Linked DNA regions of Homo sapiens: regions 1, 2, 3, 5 and 6 are each linked to region 4. Evidence: promoter capture Hi-C in 16 types of primary human blood cells and fetal thymus (Javierre and others, 2016). All regions are on one chromosome and are shown on one strand. The core of a region is centred on a gene start or on the middle of the fragment in contact, and the rest is flanking DNA. Distances in the headings are between cores, read along the strand shown.

What was found. Contacts are between HindIII fragments. The CHiCAGO score rates a contact against its expected background, and 5 or more counts as called.
Region 1: a contact is called between a fragment that was not itself captured here and the fragment with the promoter of SLC9B1 in region 4, in 17 of 17 cell types (non-activated CD4 T cells, naive CD4 T cells, erythroblasts and 14 more). The highest score is 24.0, in non-activated CD4 T cells.
Region 2: a fragment that was not itself captured here is called in contact with the fragment with the promoter of SLC9B1 in region 4 in 7 of 17 cell types (total CD8 T cells, non-activated CD4 T cells, total CD4 T cells and 4 more); the score reaches 10.1 in total CD8 T cells.
Region 3: a contact is called between a fragment that was not itself captured here and the fragment with the promoter of SLC9B1 in region 4, in 13 of 17 cell types (activated CD4 T cells, total CD8 T cells, naive B cells and 10 more). The highest score is 10.3, in activated CD4 T cells.
Region 5: a contact is called between a fragment that was not itself captured here and the fragment with the promoter of SLC9B1 in region 4, in 9 of 17 cell types (total CD4 T cells, activated CD4 T cells, naive CD4 T cells and 6 more). The highest score is 10.4, in total CD4 T cells.
Region 6: a contact is called between a fragment that was not itself captured here and the fragment with the promoter of SLC9B1 in region 4, in 14 of 17 cell types (activated CD4 T cells, total CD4 T cells, non-activated CD4 T cells and 11 more). The highest score is 13.9, in activated CD4 T cells.

What each region holds. Positions count from the first base shown.
Region 1 is chr4:102,340,561-102,343,834 of GRCh38, reverse strand. The region is part of intron 2 of SLC39A8 (solute carrier family 39 member 8); the gene reads left to right. Among named protein-coding and RNA genes, the nearest start is that of SLC39A8, 3.3 kb to the left of the region's middle. The HindIII fragment of the contact is 2,782 bases long and covers 103-2,884 here.
Region 2 is chr4:102,385,263-102,388,661 of GRCh38, reverse strand. No RefSeq gene overlaps it. Among named protein-coding and RNA genes, the nearest start is that of SLC39A8, 41 kb to the right of the region's middle. The HindIII fragment of the contact is 4,429 bases long and covers 1-3,399 here.
Region 3 is chr4:102,492,474-102,496,137 of GRCh38, reverse strand. The region is part of intron 1 of NFKB1-AS1 (NFKB1 antisense RNA 1); the gene reads left to right. Among named protein-coding and RNA genes, the nearest start is that of NFKB1, 7.1 kb to the left of the region's middle. The HindIII fragment of the contact is 691 bases long and covers 1,486-2,176 here.
Region 4 is chr4:103,017,674-103,021,068 of GRCh38, reverse strand. SLC9B1 (solute carrier family 9 member B1) reads left to right here and starts at 1,364. Exons shown (of 12, transcript NM_139173.4): 1 at 1,364-1,470. It also overlaps a transcript of SLC9B2 not described here. RefSeq lists an enhancer at 1,023-1,523. The HindIII fragment of the contact is 6,332 bases long and covers 729-3,395 here.
Region 5 is chr4:102,471,557-102,475,005 of GRCh38, reverse strand. The region is part of intron 1 of NFKB1-AS1 (NFKB1 antisense RNA 1); the gene reads left to right. Among named protein-coding and RNA genes, the nearest start is that of NFKB1, 28 kb to the left of the region's middle. The HindIII fragment of the contact is 7,143 bases long and covers 1-3,449 here.
Region 6 is chr4:102,412,129-102,415,326 of GRCh38, reverse strand. No RefSeq gene overlaps it. Among named protein-coding and RNA genes, the nearest start is that of SLC39A8, 68 kb to the right of the region's middle. The HindIII fragment of the contact is 4,802 bases long and covers 1-3,198 here.

The DNA of each region.
Region 1 (3,274 bases), core at 244-2,743, 680 kb after region 4:
TATTTGATTCTAGTATTTATCCAAAATGATTAAAAAAATTTTTTCAGTAATAAACAGGGTACTACTAGGCATTTGGCAATACCTTGGGTTTAAGAACAAGCTTCAAACTACGTAGGAGCAGTTAAACATCATACCTCTTTGTAAACATAAAATCAAATTATTCCTAATTATTTCTATAATAAATACTCTGTGATTGGGTAGTTCTTAAAATTGTTAAGTAGACAAAGTGTAGTTTCTGCATCCTTCCAAAACTGCTCTCCGTCTTTTAAAACTCAGTTAACTCAGTGCTTTGACTTGTTTTCCTTTACTCCTGTCCCACTGACAGCTGATATTGGAGGGTAGAATACGGTATTTTCCATATCGTTTGTCATTTTTGGACGATGTTAGTTTGTTACAAGAAGTTTTTGGGGTCCAAGATGTTTGGGAAATGCTGCATATTATACTCTGCTCTTGGAAATTTGGCGTTTCCTAATGAATATGACTTTAGATTACAGTTAGGGAAACTGTAATCAAATAAATTCCATGTTAATAACATTATACGTAGATTGATCTTTTTGTTAGAAATATCTTACCACAATTAAAGTATATGGCTCTTAAGAAAAGTAGAACTTTCTGATGCCATGGCATGTCAGAGGTGGTCTCTCTTTGATCTAGAAGGGTTTTGTGGTCCCCTTATGCATGTTCTTTAGTAAATTGTCTATAATTCCAGTTCTGGGCATGGTATTTTATCTGGGGTAATATCTGAGAAATGATGTGTTGGAAAAATGGAAATGCCCACAAATTATGCTAATATTTAAGAAAATAAAGTGTTTGCTGGCTAGTTGCATTCTTTTCTTATCAAATAGGGGAAACAACTGAGCTGACTCCAGTATTTCCAGGTAGGTATGGTCACGTGCTTGGAAAGAAGTTTAGAGGATTGACTTGAAGCTGCATATCTGTAGCCCACACATTGTTTTGACTTGCATGACCTCCTTATCTTGCAGTGTCTGGAGGTGTTGATGAATTTTAAAGGGGCAAAAGACCTCCCCACATCACCTTTGCAAAGACATTGGAAAACATGCCTAAATTATTTAGGAAAATTGGTTAAGTGTACCAGTAATACGATTCTCTGTTTATTAGCAGGCAGGATGTCTCAATAGGTAAAATTATATGTATCTTGACACCTGTTTTCTCATTCTCATGTTTGCATATTTAACTGCCCTCATTATGGCCTCTGTGGGCATCAAAAAGAGACAGGAAGAAGCCCATAATTACCTTGGAAAGAAAAGGAAGCCAAGGAAAATTTACCACTTAATAAGCCTAACAAACATCTCTTTGATGTTCTTGCTTTTTTTTTGAGACTGAGTTTTACTCTTGTTGCTCAGGCTGGAGTGCAATGGCACGATCTCAGTTCACCACAACCTCCCCCTCTGGGTTCAAGCAATTCTCCTGCCTCAGCCTTCCAGGTAGCTGGGATTACAGGCGTGTGCCACCACACCGGGCTAATTTGTATTTTTAGTAGAGATGAGGTTTCTCCCTGTTGGTCAGTCTGGTCTCAAACTCCCGACCTCAGGTGATCCGCCGGCCTCGGTCTCCCAAAGTGCTGGGATTACAGGCATGAGCCACGGTACCTTGCCTGATGTTCTAAAAAGTCCTAATGATGACAATAATCATTGGTTAAATGATGACAAATGAAATACCAATCTAAAAGAATCCATTGATTTGCTGGTAAGTGATGGACTTGAGCCCACAACATTCATGTATGCTCCAGTGTGAAACCACCCAATTCTGGAGTAAAATTTTAGGGTCATTAATGCTTACATACCCTGAGGAATACAACTTCAGTTTCCTCACAGGGTGGAATAAACAATGCACATGTCTATTGTGAGACACTGGTTTTTGGCTTTGAAAAAGGCTAAGAAGATAAAATTTGTTTCAAGGTCCAGGAATTTATTGAATCTTCTACAAGATTTAGTTTTCAAATAACATTGTTCTTTTGGTTGAGGGCTGTGATATTTATTAGGTCAGCTTTTCTCAGGTAATAGACTAATGAACTCTGGAGATTTGTTAGACAATTTTGGAAGGTTTTCTAAATATTTTTCTTCGTATCCTTAAGTAAGGACTACTAAATTAGCTTGTTGCTTTGGGATATCAAAGAGGTCAGAGTTCAAACTGTAGACAGTAGAACAATTGAGCCAATAGTTTTGCTTCTTATAGCTACTGACAGTGCGAAGAGTTAGGTAGAAGCAGTGACCAAAACAACAAAGAAGAGGGAGCCCTTTTAGCCAAATAGGTCTCTGGGGCCCTCATTTCTGGATAAAGGTCTGATCTATTGAGGGGAGTTCCTAGAATACACAGGGAAGCCCCAAATATCTGGATACCCCTGGGTTATTAATCTAGGACATTTAAGAATGGCCTCAGTGCTGCCTTTTGTTTGTTCAGCTGTTCCTTTCTCATTCTTCAAATGTTCCTTTTCCTCATTTCCTCTTTCAAACACTGTATTTTCAAGTTCTTATGTGTAGATAGTGGTTAAACAGCCTGATAAAAGGAAGATCCTATTTTCTAAATTATCACACTGAGCTGCTGGAAATGCCTCCATTCAGAATTTCTTCTTCTGATATATATTTTTTGATATATATCTTGCAGCCCATCTCCTGTAGTGCACATAGTTTTTTTCTTCTCACATTTCTACTGGTAACCAAGTTCTGTTTTTAACCTTTTTCAGTTCATATTCAGTCTTCTCAAAGCAACACTCTTTCAAAAAGCCTCCATGAACTGTCTCAGCTGGCAAACTCTAAATCTTGAGCCTAGCATTTAAGGCCTGATCCTCCTGTGTCAACCTACCTCTCCAGACCTAGCACCCACTAAACTAAACTACTCACTGCTCTATGGATTCCCATAAGCTTTTGCTCAACCACTTCTTAACTCATTATCTTCCTTGGACCTTTCCTGCCTTTGACTGAAATGTTCTTCTTTTCCTTGAATTGCCCTGTGAAAATCTACTCTCTTAAGCCCAGTTAAACTTCACCATAAAACCTTTCTGGGGTATCACAGCCAGCACTGATTTACTGATTTCTCTATTTTCTGAATTCCTGAAATATTTTTTACCATGCTGATGTCACTTCTATTCCTGTGTTCAGCAGACATTTTAAATGACTGCTGCACTCTAATTTGAATGGTTATTTAAAAATACAAATCTGATCATATCATTCATCCTGTTAAACAATTCAGTGACTTTTAGATAAACTACAAACACTTAGAGTGGCTTCAAAGTCCTTTTCTGATTTGGTCCCTG
Region 2 (3,399 bases), core at 694-3,193, 630 kb after region 4:
AAGGTCACCCATTACACCTCAATTCAGAGTATTTATTGTTTTAATGACTTAAATTATTTTTCACATTAAAACTTCCTGCAGAGAGGGTTGAAGAAAGAAAAATGAGTATTATTATTATTAGTAGTAGTAGTACAGTTGGTTAAAAAGTTAAAATTAATTGCTCAGAAGTGATTTAAGGATAATAACTATTAGTTTAGAAAACGAAATAAGATGGAAAATAAAAAATAAGCACAATAGTATGTATTTTTAAAATTAATGGCCAATTTTTCAACTATTGGGTCACAGTGACCTTAGCATCATGTGTACAGTAGGAAAAATCAATCAAAACATTTTTATGGAGGACCTTTGCTCTAAGTGCAACAAGCTAGAAAAACTTAAGATATATTTTCTTTTAAGGAACTTAAAATCTCCTTGGAAAGGTAAGATAAGAATGTAGAAAGTAACAGAAAATATGAGTACACCAATAATGTGCACCAGTGAAAAGGTTAAAAATAATAAGATTTAAGGCTTTCTCAGAAGTATGGGGTGGTCAGTGAATGCATTCACTGGGGGATGAAGGACATGGGAAGGGGGCTGAGACTTGAAGGATTCAGGGACTGATAAGATGCCGTGAAGATGAGGCAAGGGAGCCATTTCAAGCTAAAGAGTGGGAGGAGGATGGTTTGAGCAGAGATCTGGTGCAGAAAAGAGAAGAATGCCTGGAGGCAAGTTGGGTAACTGCAGGAGATAAGGTTTGGCAAGGTAAAAATGGGCCAGATGGTTGAGGGCTAGGCACAGGAATTCAGATTTTTGTCTTGCACAGATTTCAGAGTTTGAATTAGGAAATAATTTGACTTAGAGACTGTAAACACCCAGAAAAATGTAAGAGACAGCAGTTATGTAGGCTTTGTGATTATTGTAGAACTTCAGAACGGAAATGAATAATCTGACCTATGTGGACAGTGATGGGGATGGAAAAGCAGGGATGCATGTTAGTGAAGTTGCACAAGAGGAATCAAAAGCATTTGGTAACATGATCTAGGGGTGAGGGGCAGGTAACTTTCAAACTTTTTGATGATGATCATAACAAGAAATGCATTTATATATTTTGCTTATAATTACATATACATATATATGTTGTACATTTATAAAAAACGGAAATGAAAATTCTAAAAAAAAGTTTACGCTTACTCTAATTGATGTACATTGATATTTGTTTCCTTCCATTCTATTAAAAAATAAACTGATATTAATCCATGAAAATGATTTTATGAACCATGAGTGAGTTGTTATTTGAACACAATGTTTGTAGGGGTATAATTTAAAGGATACCAGAAAATTGTCCTTCTCCAAGATTTCTTACTGATTTTGCATTTCCAGAATTGGAAATTGAAATTTTGGTCCTGTGTTAAAGCAAATCTCTTTGGAAAGGCATAAACTTTGCAACCTTTTACCTTACAGTGAGCAATTTATTATCTTTCCTGGAAATCATGTTACGTTAGAGCAGACAATAGGGAAAATATGGAAGCCTGAGATGTTTGTCTGAAAGGTTGCGAAAGGCAAGACGGTGTTGAGACAGAAATGTTGTCCTCTTTAAAATTTTATATAGAAGTTACTACAATAAGTACAAGACAAAATTAATATTCACTCATTCATTCTCACTTAATCACAAGATAAAATTAATATTCACTCATTCATTCTCACTTAATCTTAGCCAAAAAACTGAGAAGCAATAATATTCATTCTCTGAATGAGGAAGAAAGACTTGAAGGAAGGTGGAACAAGGATTGGCAAACAGGATAGTAAGCCATTGTTTCTCAGCCATGAGGAGAAGATGCTAACCAGTACATCTGGAAGGTGAAGAACAGGAGAAGGAGAGGTTTGGAATAACCAGGAATAGGAATAGAGGGAGAAGGTGGGAGTGTAACTGTCTCAGGAGAGCGTTATATGTCAATGTATCATGTCAATGAGCCATGATAAAAGTGACTCTAGTCCTCAGGTTTAGGCAAGTTGCTTAGTCTGGGTCCTCTATCTTTTGTTGTGAAGACTCGATTTCACTAGAGTAACTGTCCAAACAAACCAACACACAGAGAATTAGGAAAATGGGTTCCTAATTCATCTGTGGTATTGTCAGGAGAATAGGAGAGTCAGGCAGTTAGTGTTCTTCTAGTGGTTCCAAGGATTAGAGGAAAATCATATTGGAGAAAGGGCATAGGGCACATGCCTTAATTTATGTGTATGGAGAAGGATGCTCTCTGGATGGCTGTGATAATCCCAGGTATCTCACGTTTTCAGCTTCAATTTGGTGTGTGGTCTGCATCTCCATGATTTTGTCTGGGCTGAGGGGTCAGTCGTGAACACTTCAGGGTTATTTTGCACCAGGCCGCTTAGTCCTATCTAGAATATGGCAAATCACTCTTAGATCTAAGATATCAATTTAGCAGAAACAGCAGTCAGTGAGTGAAGTCAAATAATTTCAATGGTGCACAATGGATGTATTAAATTTTATCATAGCACTAACCTCTTCTATCAATTGTGTAAGATTACTTTTCTCTTGAAAGACCAGTACCCTTAGAAGAAAGATCAATCTTCTCTTATTAATGCCTCTCTTAAACAGAGGCATTAAACTTACATATTTGCAACTTCTGCTTAACATTTATAATTAAGAATTCCTCCTTAATTTGGAGTAAATTATATAGAACTAGAATAAAAGATGAGTTCCCTTTGCCAATTTATAGAGCAGGAGCTGGATAAAAGGATGCGGCCATGCTGTTTTCTTCTCAGAGCTACATCTGCTCCAGTGCCTGAGGAGATGCCCAAGGCACAGTTCAAAGTCTCTATTTCTAATCTCTAGTGAGAGTTTGATAGGAAGAATGTGGACTTATCCTTCCTTGTCCTGAAATTGAGAGGAAGAGAGGGATGTGTGTGACTCCCCTCCCCGTGTTCAGGGACTTTGCCATCAAAGCCTTGCATTATTCCAGGAGTCCCCACTTGCTTTAGTTCGATGGAAAGAGAATTTAGCTGGATGGAGGAATCAGGAATTCCCCCTGAATATTGTGTGCCAAGGAAATCTTTTTTGTTTCCAGTAATCATAAAATAACCCATAACACCCAGATGGGTCTGATTCCTGGACCTCAACACAAATGTCCCCTCATTCTCTACTCTCTTTCAGATATAAAGGTAAATGCTATCTAAGCCACAGTAACCTTGAGATACTGTGGGCCTGGGGCAGAGAAGAGCATCTGTAGAAGAGGCAGTGGACCACAGTACTGGATCTGGAAGTTCTGAGCCTTTACTTGTTGAGGAGCAGTGAGTACCTATTTGGGATTTCTGGTGAGTAACATCACCTGCCTCCTCTGACAGAACTCCATTATCATGTCATTGATTTCTCAGTGAACCATACTCTAAAGGTATTACTAG
Region 3 (3,664 bases), core at 582-3,081, 530 kb after region 4:
CGCAGGAAACCCTCAGGCTCTAGTAAACCAGGGTGATTGGTCATGCTATATGAAGCCGACAAAACTGTTCTGAGTGAAATAAGGCTAGTTACTGGACATCATTGAGACAGCTGCCAATTACTTGTTTTTATGGAGGAGGTTTGCTTCTGTTTTCTGAAAGGTTGTATATCTGGCTGTCAAATCTATTCATAAGTGATGGTCTGACACTTATACATGCCTCTTTAATAAGATAAATATGGTTTTGCATATATATAACTCCTGATAAGCTTTTACAGAAATCTGAAAGAAATGTGAAATTATGTCATTTATTAATATATTGTTAATAAATACAAGTTATTAATATTAATATACTATATTTATTATATTAATAATGTTATATGATATTTACTTTATAACTATTGCAATATAAAATTAATATTTATATAATACCAATTATATAATTATTAATAATAATATAAAATAATAATTGTACACATCAATATATAATTATTGATTTATATATAAAGCTATATATAATTTATAAGTTATATAATTCTATATTATATAGAAGTCAATATATAATTTATTATATATTATAACTATTGTATATTATATATCATATACATTTATATATAATATATTGTTTATGTATAAATTATATGTTTAATAATATAATGATTATATTAACAATAACATTAATATATAATATTAATATTAATGTTTTTGTATATTAATATAATAAGCTTGGATTTTGGAAGCATGTTATATGGCTCCCTGGGTCTCAAGATTTGATGTTTCAACAGTTACATTCCTAGTCCATTATCTTTTGTAACATTTCCTCTCTTTCATTTTCCCTAGACTTGTTTTCTGGAATTTAAATTAGGTATATGTTAGATCTTCTCAATCTAATCTCTGTGTCTTTTAATATCTCTTATCTCTTTGGATTTCATTCTGGATAATTTCTTTATATTTGCCTTCTAGTTTATCAATTCTCTTTTCAGCTATATTTCATATGCTGTTTAATATGTCAACTGAATTATAAATAATAAATTGCTTACGTTTCTTGAAACAATCTCTGGAAATTATTTGAAGCTTAGGTTAAAATTGAGTAAGGAATATTTGTGCTTCTTTTTGCCTGTTATCTGGTATACTATTAACTTGGAAAAACCTTAAATAAAATTTTTTACTTGTGTGCTTTTGATCATCACATATAGTGTAAGTGGTTATGAATTCACAGGTGAGAATTTCTTCTTTTTCTGTCCAGTGACAAGGACTAGATAGGCAGTGTTATCGTTTGAACATGTCCCCCAAAGTTCCTGTGTTGGGACTTAACTCCCCATTCAACAGTGTTGAGAGGTGAGACCTTTGAGAGCTGATTGGGTCATGAGGTCTCTACCCCCATAAATGGATGAATGCCATTATTGTAGGAGTAGGTTACTTTCTCTCTTGAGTGTCTGCTCTTTTGCTCTTCTGCCTTTCACTATGGGATGATGTAGCAAGAAAGCTTTCACAAGATGCTGGCACCTTGATATTGGACTTCCCAGCCTCCAGAACTGTGAGATACAAATTTCTTTTCATTATAAATTACCCAGTCTGTGGTTTTCTGTGATAGCAACACAAAACAGACTAAGTCAATTTCTCAGCTATTCCCTCCAGTTTTTCAGTTTTGGAAATATTTAGATTCCTGAATTTCATGCCGGCTAAGCAGTATTAATTTTTAAAAATATGTTATGTAGCATTTCAGTTATTTCCATTAGTTATTTCATTTTAGTTATTTCAACCAGGAAGGGTATACTGTCAGAAACACATGGAGTCATTACCTATTTTTAAAATATGTATATTTTATCATTCTAGCATCTATCATATATTTAACTCCTAATCTTTAATTATATCTTCTTGAGTGAATTTATTACTTTTTAGAAAAGTTTTCACCTGGCTCTTCTAACAGTTCTATTTCAACAAAACACCTGTTTGAAGTGTTTATCTTAGTTTTCCTCTCTGGCTTGCTAGTACTACTAGGGCAAGTTATTATTTTCCATTTCCTGTTCAGACCTCAGGCTCTGTATACACTGACCTATAATTACAGGACAAGTAGTTAGGGTCTTTTATGCAGTGGCAAACCTGCCAGGGGAAAGGTTTCTGCTTTTGTGGGCTGGCAGTAAACCAACTGGCAATCTGTCCACACCCAGCTGAAGCTTTAAAAAAAGTCTTTCTTCTCCCAGAGCTCCCTGGGTGCAAGGGAGAATGCTTGCCTAACCTCAGGGGCTACAAGCAACTCTTCCATGAGTGCAGCGTTCCTCCATATGACCTGTCACTACCCAGATTAGTCTGACCTTCCCAAGAACACACACAAATAAGCCCATGTAATGCTTTCCTGAAGGCATTCATAGGTTTCCTCAGGCTAACTTTCACTGGAAGCCATAAAATTGAGACCTTTGTTTTAAGTCTTTCTATAACAAGGCCCTCCAGACTACCTAAAACAGAGAAGAGTGAGAGTATCTCTTTCCTTTTAGAGACCCTGGAGCCTGTGACCTCAAGTGACCCTGCTTTAGATGCCCCTGCTTACCTGCAGTAGCATTTTTTCTTGTTGGGGAAAGTAATTGAGAAGAGATTGGGAGGGTAAATTTGGGGACCTGTGTTCCATTACTATCTTCTTACAATGCTGTGAGTCACATGTCTACTTTTAGTGACAAGGAGGGTCTATCTCATCTGGAAGACATGAATTAGTAATGCTAGATTATGGTTAGCTAAGCGTAAATTGGGGCACTGTTATCAAAAAAAGGAAGAAGGGAAGACAAAGAGTATAAACAACAGATATCACCTCTATGTAGCACCTGTAAGGCTTATGCATAGTAGGTATACATAGATATACTTATCTGTTTTACTGATAGACATATCAGTAGATATACAGATCAGTTTTTTACTGCATTTTCTTTGAAATAAGTAATATAATTAAATGCCAGGAAGAGAGTTTTTTTCCAATGGCGTATTATAAATTATCAATATAATGCTGAGCATATACTTATCTTGGTTAGGATGCTTTTCACCTAAGGTGAAAAGATGTAAAATTATGACTCAAAATGACTTAACCATTATGGAATTTCATCAGGTCACATCGTTGAAAATCTTTAGGTTTAATGTAATCACAATTCTGGCTCTCTTCCCTTCAGAGACATTTTCTTTTCTTCTGTCCCTGTGTTAACAGTTTCCTCATGCTGGCTTTTCTCTTGGTCAAAAGATGGCTTCCAGATATACTAGGGACATACTTTCTTGTTGTAAGAGATGGGGTTGGGGGATTGGAGAGAGAGAGAGAGAGAGAGTTGTTTTTGATATATATATATACCCATGAGACCATCACCATAATAAAGACAGTGACCATGTGCATCAGCTGAAAAGTTTTCTCATGGCCCTCTGCAGTTCCTCATTTCCATTCCTCACTCCTCCACATTCCTAAGCAACCACTGATTTGCTTTCTGTCATAGATTAGTTTGCATTTTCTAGAGTTTCATATAAATGGAATCATACAGTAGGTACTATTTTTTATCTGACTTCTTTCATTGAGCATGATTATCTTAAAATTCATCCACCTTGTTGTATCAGTAGTTAATTCCTTTTTATTGTTGAGTAGCATTCCATTGTATAGATAGTCACAATTTATTTATCCATTTTCCTGTTCATAGACATT
Region 4 (3,395 bases), core at 115-2,614:
TTTTCATGAGTACAAAACATTTCCTTAACCCTATAATCATGAAACCCTGTCTACTCTCCTGAAACGAGGAAGAAAAATAAATCCTTGCTGAGATGTCTATAACACGTTGAAGGAGGGAAGGTGTTAAAAACAATAAAAAGGGCAGGGCTGTGGTGGCTCACGCTTGTAATCCCAGTACTGTGGGAAGCCAAGACGGGCAGATCACTTAAGTCCAGGAGTTCAAGTCCTCCTGGGCAATATGTGAAACTCCTCTCTACTAAAAATACAAAAATTAGCCGGGGGTAGTGGTGCCCACCTGTAGTCCCAGCTACTCAGGAGGCAGGAGGATCGCTTGAACCAAGGAGGAGGAGGCTGCAGGGAGCCTAGATCGCACTGCACTCCAGCCGGGGTAATAGAGTGAGACCCTGTCTCAACAACGTCAACAAAACCAATAAAAAGATAATTTCGTATTTAAGTTACCCAAGAAGGAACGGTAATTTGGATCAGATCTTAGATGATGACTAAGAAAAAGAACACTCCGGTAGAGGAATTAACTTTACAGAACGCACTGAGGCAAAAAGGAATACAGTGTTCAAGAGTAAACATTGAGTGTCAGGAGAAACATTAGATAGGAAAGGGCAGTTTGTCTTTCTAAGAAGTTTACACTTTCTCCAATAACAGTTGTTTTTGTCTTTTATAGGAAGCGCGGATTCTATTACTGGAAACTTTGGGACTGAAAGGCCAAAGCTTCTGGGCCCACCATCAACGCAGCTCCGCTTTCATTTCTTTCACATACAACTTTCCACATAAGATTTCATGCGGAAAAAAAAAAAAAACTCACAAAGGTTTTATACTGATAACAGTATATTAAGTGTTTACTTTGTACACAGCGTCTTTGTTCCAGACACTTGCCATGTCTCATTTATTCTCACACCACCACCACAGCGTCCTTTACAGATGAGAAGACAACCTCAGGGAGACGATGTATTTGCCTAGGTCCCATAGCTAGCAAGTGACAGCGCTGCAGTTTAAGCTCAGGCCGTCTTGGGGAGAGACCGTGCTCTTCTACCATTGCACTTTAAGCTGACTTTAGGGGAAACACAATCTGAGTTTTGACAAGTTTACTTCTGGCACATGCAGTCCCGAGCACTGCTTTTTGGCTAAAATGCCCAGTGATGTCAACTCTGTCCCTGGATTTCTACAACCCGATGAGTCAATATTCAGAAGAGACGTCGAAAGGAAAGGGTTCAATAGACAGAAAACACACCAGACAGTCCCAGAAACCCCAGAACCCTCGCCTCTGCCGGCGCGGACAGCCAAGACGTCACTTAAACGCGCTGCCGCCTCCTCGCCCCGCCCCGCCCCTGCGCGGAAGTCTATCCGGGCTTTCGCGTCACCACCCTGCCCACCTGGGTGGCGCGTGGCTTACGCAACGGTCACTGGGCTCCTGGGCCGCTCCCGGGCCAGCGAGGGCTGCGAAAGAAGTTGTAGGTACGGCCCATTTTTCTTAACGCCGCCCTTCCAAGCCCTTTGGCGCTAGTCCCGGGTCTGCCGCGATCGTTTCCTTGCGGTAGGCCGCAGGAGGGCCTTTCCTCCCCCTCAGTTCAATGGGATTCTTGGGCTCTTCTCCCAGACGCTGAGGGAACAGCCACAGACATTGTCTCTCCTCTCCGTGACTCCTTTCCTTACTCCGTCATCCCACATCTCTCTTGTTTGTTCTCTTTTCCTCCTGTTTTTCTTATTTTACAAATACTCGCCAGTAAGAAAGAAGAGATCTGTCAGTTAAGATTGACCTCAAAATTAATTTTATTAAGCGTGTACTATTTTACAAACGGTGGATCCCTGCAAATAAACCTTCACATACATGCTCCTGCGACTGGAGATTCTGGGATTGGTTGCCGATCCTGAGAAAGCTCTCTTCCCCCACCCACCCACATCCACGCCCCTTAATCCTGTTTACTCCTCTTGGCTTTAACCCAGGGGACAAGCACTTCCAGCAGTCCCCAACCTTTTTGGCACCAGGGATCAGTTTCATGGAAGACAGTTTGGGGTGGGGGGCAAGATGGGATGACACTCTTCTATCTCAGATCATCAGGCATTAGATTCTCTTGAGAAGGCGCAATTTAGATCCCTCACATGCGCAGTTCATAATCAGGTCTGTGCTCCTATGAGAATCTAATGCCTTTGCTCATCTGACAGGAGCTGGAGCTCAGGCATAATCCTCTAGCCCTGCTCACCTGCTGTGTGGCCTGTTCCTAATAGGCCACAAACCTGTACCTGTCTGCTGCCCAGGGGTTGGGGATCCCTGCTTTAGACCAGTGCTTTTGAAGGAAAAAGGAAAGTTGCACACATACTGTGTCTGTCACATCAATCAGTAGTGTTACAAGAGCTCTTCACGGGACCATACCAGGTCCCTCACTCCCCCTCTATGGGTGTCCTAGAGCCTGTGAAATAACAGATTTGGTGATGTGGGGAGACAACTGGCCCAGGTGGCACTGAGGGAGGCCACACCCCACTCTCTGATTTTCCTTAGAGATAAATATAATTATGTGTGCAACAGAAGCATGAAAAATGACACTTATTATTGTCACCCCTAGAGAATTCATGCCCCAAATATTTTAGTCACTGTGTGCCTATGAAAAGGGCATTCATAGGTATTGTCCCCTGTGAGTACCAGAATTTTTTTTAACTTACTTTTTAAAATTCTATACAGATTTAGTTAGTACAAGTTCAGTTTTGTTGTGTGGATATATTGCACAGTGGTGAAGTCTGGGCTTTTAGAGTACCAGAATTTATACTGCTGTTTTTCAGTTGGCTCTTGTCATAAGGTCCTGCCAATTACTAGACACAAGGAAATAGGTGGGTGCTATAGTTGTAACATATAAAGTATCGTTTTTATAGTACTTCTCATTTTGTACTTATTTTTGTACTCATCCTGTTTAAACACTTCTGTTGGTTAACCAAATCCCATGTTACTGTGGTGTTTACTAAACACTGAGATTGAATAGTACCTGGAACATAGTGTAATATATGTTCAATAAATATTTTTTGAGGGAATGAATGGATGAGCTTCTGAAGAAGCCATACCTTAGCCACTTTTGTTTTTCCTGGATCCAGAGCTTAGTCTAGCAGTAGTAAACTCACCAGTGTGAGTTAAGTAGAGAAGTCAAGTGACTTGCTTAGGGAAAGGCATTCATTAAGTATTTTTTAAAGAATATCCTACTTTGTCAGGCGTTGTTTTAGGCATTGTGAATACAATGGTAAGAAAGACTAGCAAGATCGCTGTTCTTATGAAGTTTAAATTCTAGTGAGTGTAAGATAGAAAATAGGTAAACTATATGAGCAAGGAATTTTGGATAATAGTAAGCACAGTGAAGAAGTAAAACTGTAAAGGTCTTCCTTAAGACTGGGGGAGG
Region 5 (3,449 bases), core at 154-2,653, 550 kb after region 4:
GTTTACGTTTCTATTTCTCTTGGCTCTCTAGTTTCAGCTCTAGGTAAGGTTAAATCCTACTCCCATGATCTGGATTTTCAGGTTTCCCAGTGAGGATGTGTATTTGGAAGCGGACTTTCCTTCTCTCACACTTTGGATACTCACAGTTTTTTGGCTGTCTCACAGAGTTTGTAGCAGCAAGCCTCTTCTTTCAAAGGATCTGTGAATTCTTTTAGTATTCCTGGTATCTTCCTGCAGTAGCTCTTGGAGTAAAAGTTCACAATATGAGTCTCCACATGCTGTTCTGTCCATCTGGGTAAGAGCTGCAAGTTAGTTCTGACTCCTATCTGCCATTTTTTCTCTCTTCCATTTTTTTATGTCTGTGTGTTTGTGTATAGATATTGCATTATTTTTTCTTTCTACAAATGCTTAGTAAACTTCTCTAGTGAAGCTCTCTTTACCTGGATTTTTTGGTTGTTGTTAAAAGATTTTAAAGTATAATTTCAGTTTAATAGATATTCCACTCTTCATACTCTCTATTTTTCTTGAGTGATTATTGGTAGTTAATGTCTTTAAAAAAATTTGCCAATTCCTCTAAGTTATTGAATTTGTAGTCATAAAAGTGTTCATAATATTTCCTTCTTACCCTTTTTTAAAAAAATTATGTTTCATTTTGACGCAACTGTAGATTCACATACAACTGTGAGGAAGAATACACAGAGATCTTGTGTAGCTTTCACCTAGTTTCCCTCAATGTAATATTTTGCAAAACTATAGTACAATATTATAGCCAGGATGTTGACACTGATACATTCAAGATACAGAACATTTCCATCACTACAGGCTCTCTCCTGATGCTCTTTCACAGCTACACCCACTTCTCTTCCTCTTCCATCCCTCTTTAACCCTTAGCAGTCACTAATCTGTTCTTCACTTCTATAATTTTGTTACATCAGATATGTGAATATAATTATACAATGTATGATCTTTCAGAATTGTTTCTTTTTCACTTAGTACAAATCCCTGGAGATTCATCCAGGTGGTTGTGTGTATCAACAGTTCATTCTTTGTTATTGCTGGGTAGTATTTTATGGTACAGCTGTTCCAGTTTGTATACCCATTTACACATTGAAGAACATCTGAGCTGTTTCTACTTTTTTTGTTTTTTTAGAGACCAGATGTCTCTCTGTTGCCTAGGTTGAAGTATACAGGTTGCCATGATTGTAGTTTACTACAGCTTTGAACTTCTAGGCTCAAGCAATCCTCTCACCTCAGTCTCCCAAGTAGCTGGTCCTACAGACACCACCACACCCTGCTAATTAAAAAAACTATTTAGAGACACGGTCTTGCTATGTTGCCAAGACAAATCTCTCCCAGCCTCAGGCAATCCTCCTGCCTCAGCCTCTCCAGTGGTTGAGATTACAGGTGTGAGCCACCATGTCTGATGTTTCTACTTTTTGGCTATTGCAAATAAATCTTCTATAAACATTCTTTTACAGGTGTTTGTGTGAACATAAAGTTTCATTTATATGGAATAAATACCCAGGAGTGTAATTGGTAGATCATAGGGTAGTTGCATGTTTAGTTTTTAAAGAAACTGCTAAACTACTAAACTGCTTTCCAGAGTGGCTGTACCATTTTACATCCCAAGCAGTGACACCTGAGTGATCCAGTTTCTTCACACCCTCACTAGTATTTGGTGTTGTCACTATTTTTTATTTTAGCTGTTCTCATAGGTATGCAGTGGTATTTCATTGTGATTTTAGTTCACACAGCCTTAAGGGCTGATGAAGTTGCACATATTTTCATGTGCTTACTTACCATCTATTTATCCTCTTCAGTGAAGTTTCCATTTATGACTTTCATTCATTTCTAATTGGATTGAGTGTTTACACTGAGTTTTGAGAGTTCTTTTTGTATTCCAGATACTAGTCCTTTGGTGGCCATGTGATTTGTAAATATATTCTCTCAGCCTGTAGCTTGACTTTTCATCCTCTTAACTCAGTCTTTTCTAGAGCCAAAGATTTATATTTTGATGAAGTCCAATGTATCATTTTTTTCCATTCATAGATCATATTTTTGGTGTCAAGTCTAGGGACTTTTTGCCTAACCCTAGATCCCAAAGATTTTCCCCTGTGTGTGTTTTTTTTAAGTTTTATAGTTTACATTTTACATGCAAGTGCATGATCCACTTTGAGTTAATTTTTAACTTTGGTCAAGGTTCATTTTTTTTTTTTTTTTTGGCCTATGGATATCTAATTGTTCTGGAACAATTTATTGAAAAGGCTATCTTAAGGACAGGCACAGTGGCTGATGCCTGTAATCTCAACACTTTCGGATACCAAGGTGGGAGGATAGCTTGAACCCAGGAGTTTGAGACCAGCCTGGGCAACATAGTGAGACCCTGTCTCTCAACAAATTAAAAAATAGCCAGGCATGTTGGTGTGTGCCTGTATTCCTAGCTACTAAGGAGGCTGAGGTGGGAGAATTGCTTGGGCCTGGGGGGTTAAGGCTGCAGTAAGCCATGATCCTGCCATTGTACTCCAGCCTGGCTGAAAGAGTGAGACTTTGTGTCCAAAAATAAAAAAAGACTATCTTTTCTCTATTGAATTGCTTGTGCACGTTTGTCTAAAGTCAAGTGGGCATATTTCTGTGAATTTATGAATTTATTTCTGGTTTCTCTATTTTGTTCCCTTTATCTATATATCTGTCTTACTTACAATAACTCACAATCTTGATTACTATAGCTATAAAATGTCGGAATTAGGTAGACTGTTTCTTCCCGTTTTTAAAATTCTTTTTCAAAGTTTTTTTTAGCTATTTTAATTATTTTGCCTTTCCATATATAATTTTTGGAATAATTTGTCCTTTTTTATCTAGTTCCTCTATATTTTTGTTATATTTTAGAATTTTTTCTGTACCTATTAAAAGTCTTGCTGGGATTTTGATAGGAAATATATTAAACCTGTATATCAATTTGGGGAGAACTGACATATTTACTATGTTGAGTCTTCCAATCCTCATTGGCTGCTCATTTATTTAGATCTTCTGGAGTTTTTTCTTTAGCATTTTATAGTTTTCAGCATGTAAATCCTATACATGTTTTGTTAGATTTACACCTGTTTCTTTTTTTTTGAGTGATTGTAAATATCATATTTTTAATTTCAGTGTTCATTGCTAATATATGGAAATAAAATTAATTTTTAAACAGACAATTTTTTTTTCACAGCAGATTTAGGTTCACAGCAAAATTGAGAGGAAGGTAAAGAGATTTCTCATATACCCCCTGCTCCTACACATGCATAATAGGCTCCTCTGTTACTGACATCCCGGCTAGAGTGGTGCATTTGTTACAACTGATCAACCTACACTGACACATCGTCACCCAAAGTCCGTAGTTTACATTAAGGTTCACTCTTAATGTTGTACATTCTATGGGTTTGGACAAATGTATAATTGCATAGATCCAC
Region 6 (3,198 bases), core at 335-2,834, 610 kb after region 4:
ATTTTTTTACTGGATAAGATTTTTTCTTTTATTTTTTCTTTTTAAAATTTATTTATTGTATTTTAAGTTCTATGGTACATGTGCACAACGTGCAGGTTTGTTAACATATGTATACATGAACCATGTTGGTGTGCTGCACCCATTAACTCGTCATTTACATTAGTTATATCTCCTAATGCTATCCCTCCCCCTCCCCCCACCCCATGACAGGCCCCAGTGTGTGATGTTCCCCTTCCTGTGTCCAAGTGTTCTCATGGTTCAATTCCCACCTGTGAGTGAGAACGTGCGGTGTTTGTTTTTTTGTCCTTGTGATAGTTTGCTAAAAATGATGGTTTCCAGCTTCACCCATGTCCCTACAAAGGACGTGAACTCATCCTTTTTTATGGCTGCATAGTGTGTATGTGTCACATTTTCTTAATCCAGTCTATCATTGATGGACATTTGGGTCGGTTCCAAGTCTTTGCTATTGTGAATAGTGCCACAATAAACATATGCGTGCATGTGTCTTTATAGCAGCATGATTTATAATCCTTTGGGTATATATCCAGTAATGGGATGGCTGGGTCATATGGTATTTCTAGTTCTAGATCCTTGAGGAATCGCCACACTGTCTTCTCCAGTGGCCAGGTTTAATACTGGTGGAATATGAATAGAACATAGATATTTTTCTGAAGTCTTGTTCATCAGCACTTGCTTCTCTAACTTTGGAGCTATGTGGTCCTGAATATGTCTGGACACAGAACAGACTTCTTGTTCTTTCCTTCCTTCTCACCTTACTTTTCATCAGTGTTTTATGGAAAAAGTATAAGATTTGGAGTTAGACTGATCAACGTTTCAATCTTCATTCTGCAACTATCACCTTACTGGACCTTGGGCACCTTATTTTATCTCTATGAGTCTCAGTGCTTCATCTGTAAAAAGATAATTGCAGCATCTGCTCTGCAGGTGATTATAAGGACTAGCAATGTTGACTGCCTGGTGAGTTGTAGTTGTTTAATGAGTGGAAATATTATTGTTATAATTACTAATATTAATATCATCATCATTCTTCCAGTGTGAAGGGTAAGACAAGACAATCTGCATATTGACATGGAGGTAGATCTATCCCATGATACTTCAGATACAGTTGCTTTGCTGATTTGGGCAACTCTATCTGCATGGGTATAAAGTGAAGGAGCTATGCAAGCAAAAGAGGAGGGGGCAGGGAGGGAGAGAGAGACAGAGAGAGTGGAAGGGAGGAGAGGGAGAGGAGGAAGTATTAACTGTGAAGACAAGTGACATTTGTGTGATCTTTTGTTGTTTTTATTACTGCATCCATCTCCAAATTGGAGTCTATCTCTAAAACCTATGGATCTTTTATATTAATTTCCCAGAAAGTAAAATGAGGCTCCTATAATGTCTTTCAAGTGGTTTTCTTTCCTGTGAGGAGACAGATGCCAGAGCTTACACACAGGCTTTCTGGAGCTAGAGGAGGAAGCAGGAGGCATGTCTGGTGAAGCACATGGGCAAGGTATGTACACCAAAAAAGTGTGTGTGTGTGTGTGTGTGTGTGTGTATTGGGGTGAGGGTTGGTTATTGTGACCTGGCCCAGAGTATAGGACAAGCCCTGACCCTGAGTCTCTTTGGGTCAGCTCTTGTAATAGAGGGCAAAAGAGCCACTTTCTCTCAAGATAGGTAGACTCAGATATCGATTAACTGAGGGAAGCCCTTTGACAAAAGCTGTGGTTGAGGCAGGTTATTTTCTTACAAAATTATTCATTTTAGCTTCTTTTTATGTCCTAATCTACTTTTCTTATTTTGTCCTATTCTCTCATGCTTAGGTAAAACACTATTTTCATTTTTTTCTACTAATCATGGATAATTCACTTTTTCAAATTATTTAGTTGTAAAAGTGTCACAAACTTTTAATTTGGCTTGGCTAGGGGGCAAATGACCACTTTGTGGGGCTAGTGTATAGTCAGGACATTGCTAAATTTTGGTAGAGTGAATTTGCCTCTAATTCAAAATAGAATATTTTCTGGAGTGCTCTTGGGAGCCAACATCATTGCTGAGAAATAATCTTGCTAGCACTTTAGATTTTACAATGTAAATAATTATATTTATTTATTCCAGGTAAATATCTGACTTAAGCTACCTCAAGAGCATCTCATATTGTCATCGATTAGGAGAGTGTGTTTTTCTCTTTTTGCTGTTTCCTGTTGAAGGCCAAAGCTACACTTTTTACAGGAAGATGAGAATGGCCATAAAGTCTTCCATAATCTAATTCTGGTCTCAGTCCTCCTCACTCTTTCACTTCGGCTCCAGAAATAATGAACCACTTATAACCCCTTCTTCTCCCTGATGTTGTTTTATGTTTCCCTGTCTTTGGTTGTCTCTATCTGCAGTCTCCTCCAGAAACCTCTTCCTGCCTTTCCTATGCCCTGTGTATATATAGCAAAATTGGACTCATTCATTTTTAAAAGTCAGCTTTATTAAGGCATAATACAATGCAATATATATGATAAATTTTACCAATTTTTAAGAGTATGTACAATTCAATGGCTTTTGACAGACTTATATAGTCATATAAGCACTACAATTGTAATCTAGAACATTACTCTGCAAAAATGTTCCTATGTCACCTTGCAGTCTATCCCCTCCTCCTGCCCCCGGCCCCAACATCTGCTGATTTGTTTTCTGTCACTATAGTTGTGTCTTTAAAATAATTTCATATAAATTGAATTATTCATTATGTAGTCTTCTACATCCAGCATACTGCACTTAGCATAATGTTTCTGTATTTTGTTTTTGAGACAGAGTCTCAATCTGTTGCCCAGGCTGGAGTGCAGTGGCCTGATCTTGGCTCATGGCAACCTCTGCCTCCCAGGCTCAAGTGATCCTTTCACCTCAGCCTCCTGAATAGCTGGGACTACAGGCATGCACCACTAACTTGGCTAATTTTTTGTAGAGAAATGTTCTCACTATAGTGCCCTGTCTGGTGTCTAACTCCTGGACTTAAGCAATCCTCCCTCCTCAGCCTCCCAATGTGCTGGGATTACAGGCATGAGCCACTGTGTCCAGCGAGCATAATGTTTTTGAGATTCATCCATGATGTTGCCTGTATCAGTAGTTCATTCTTACTGTTGTCAGGTATGCTACTGTGTGGATGTACCACAATTTGCTCATCCATTCAATAGTTATTGGGCATATGGTGTTCAC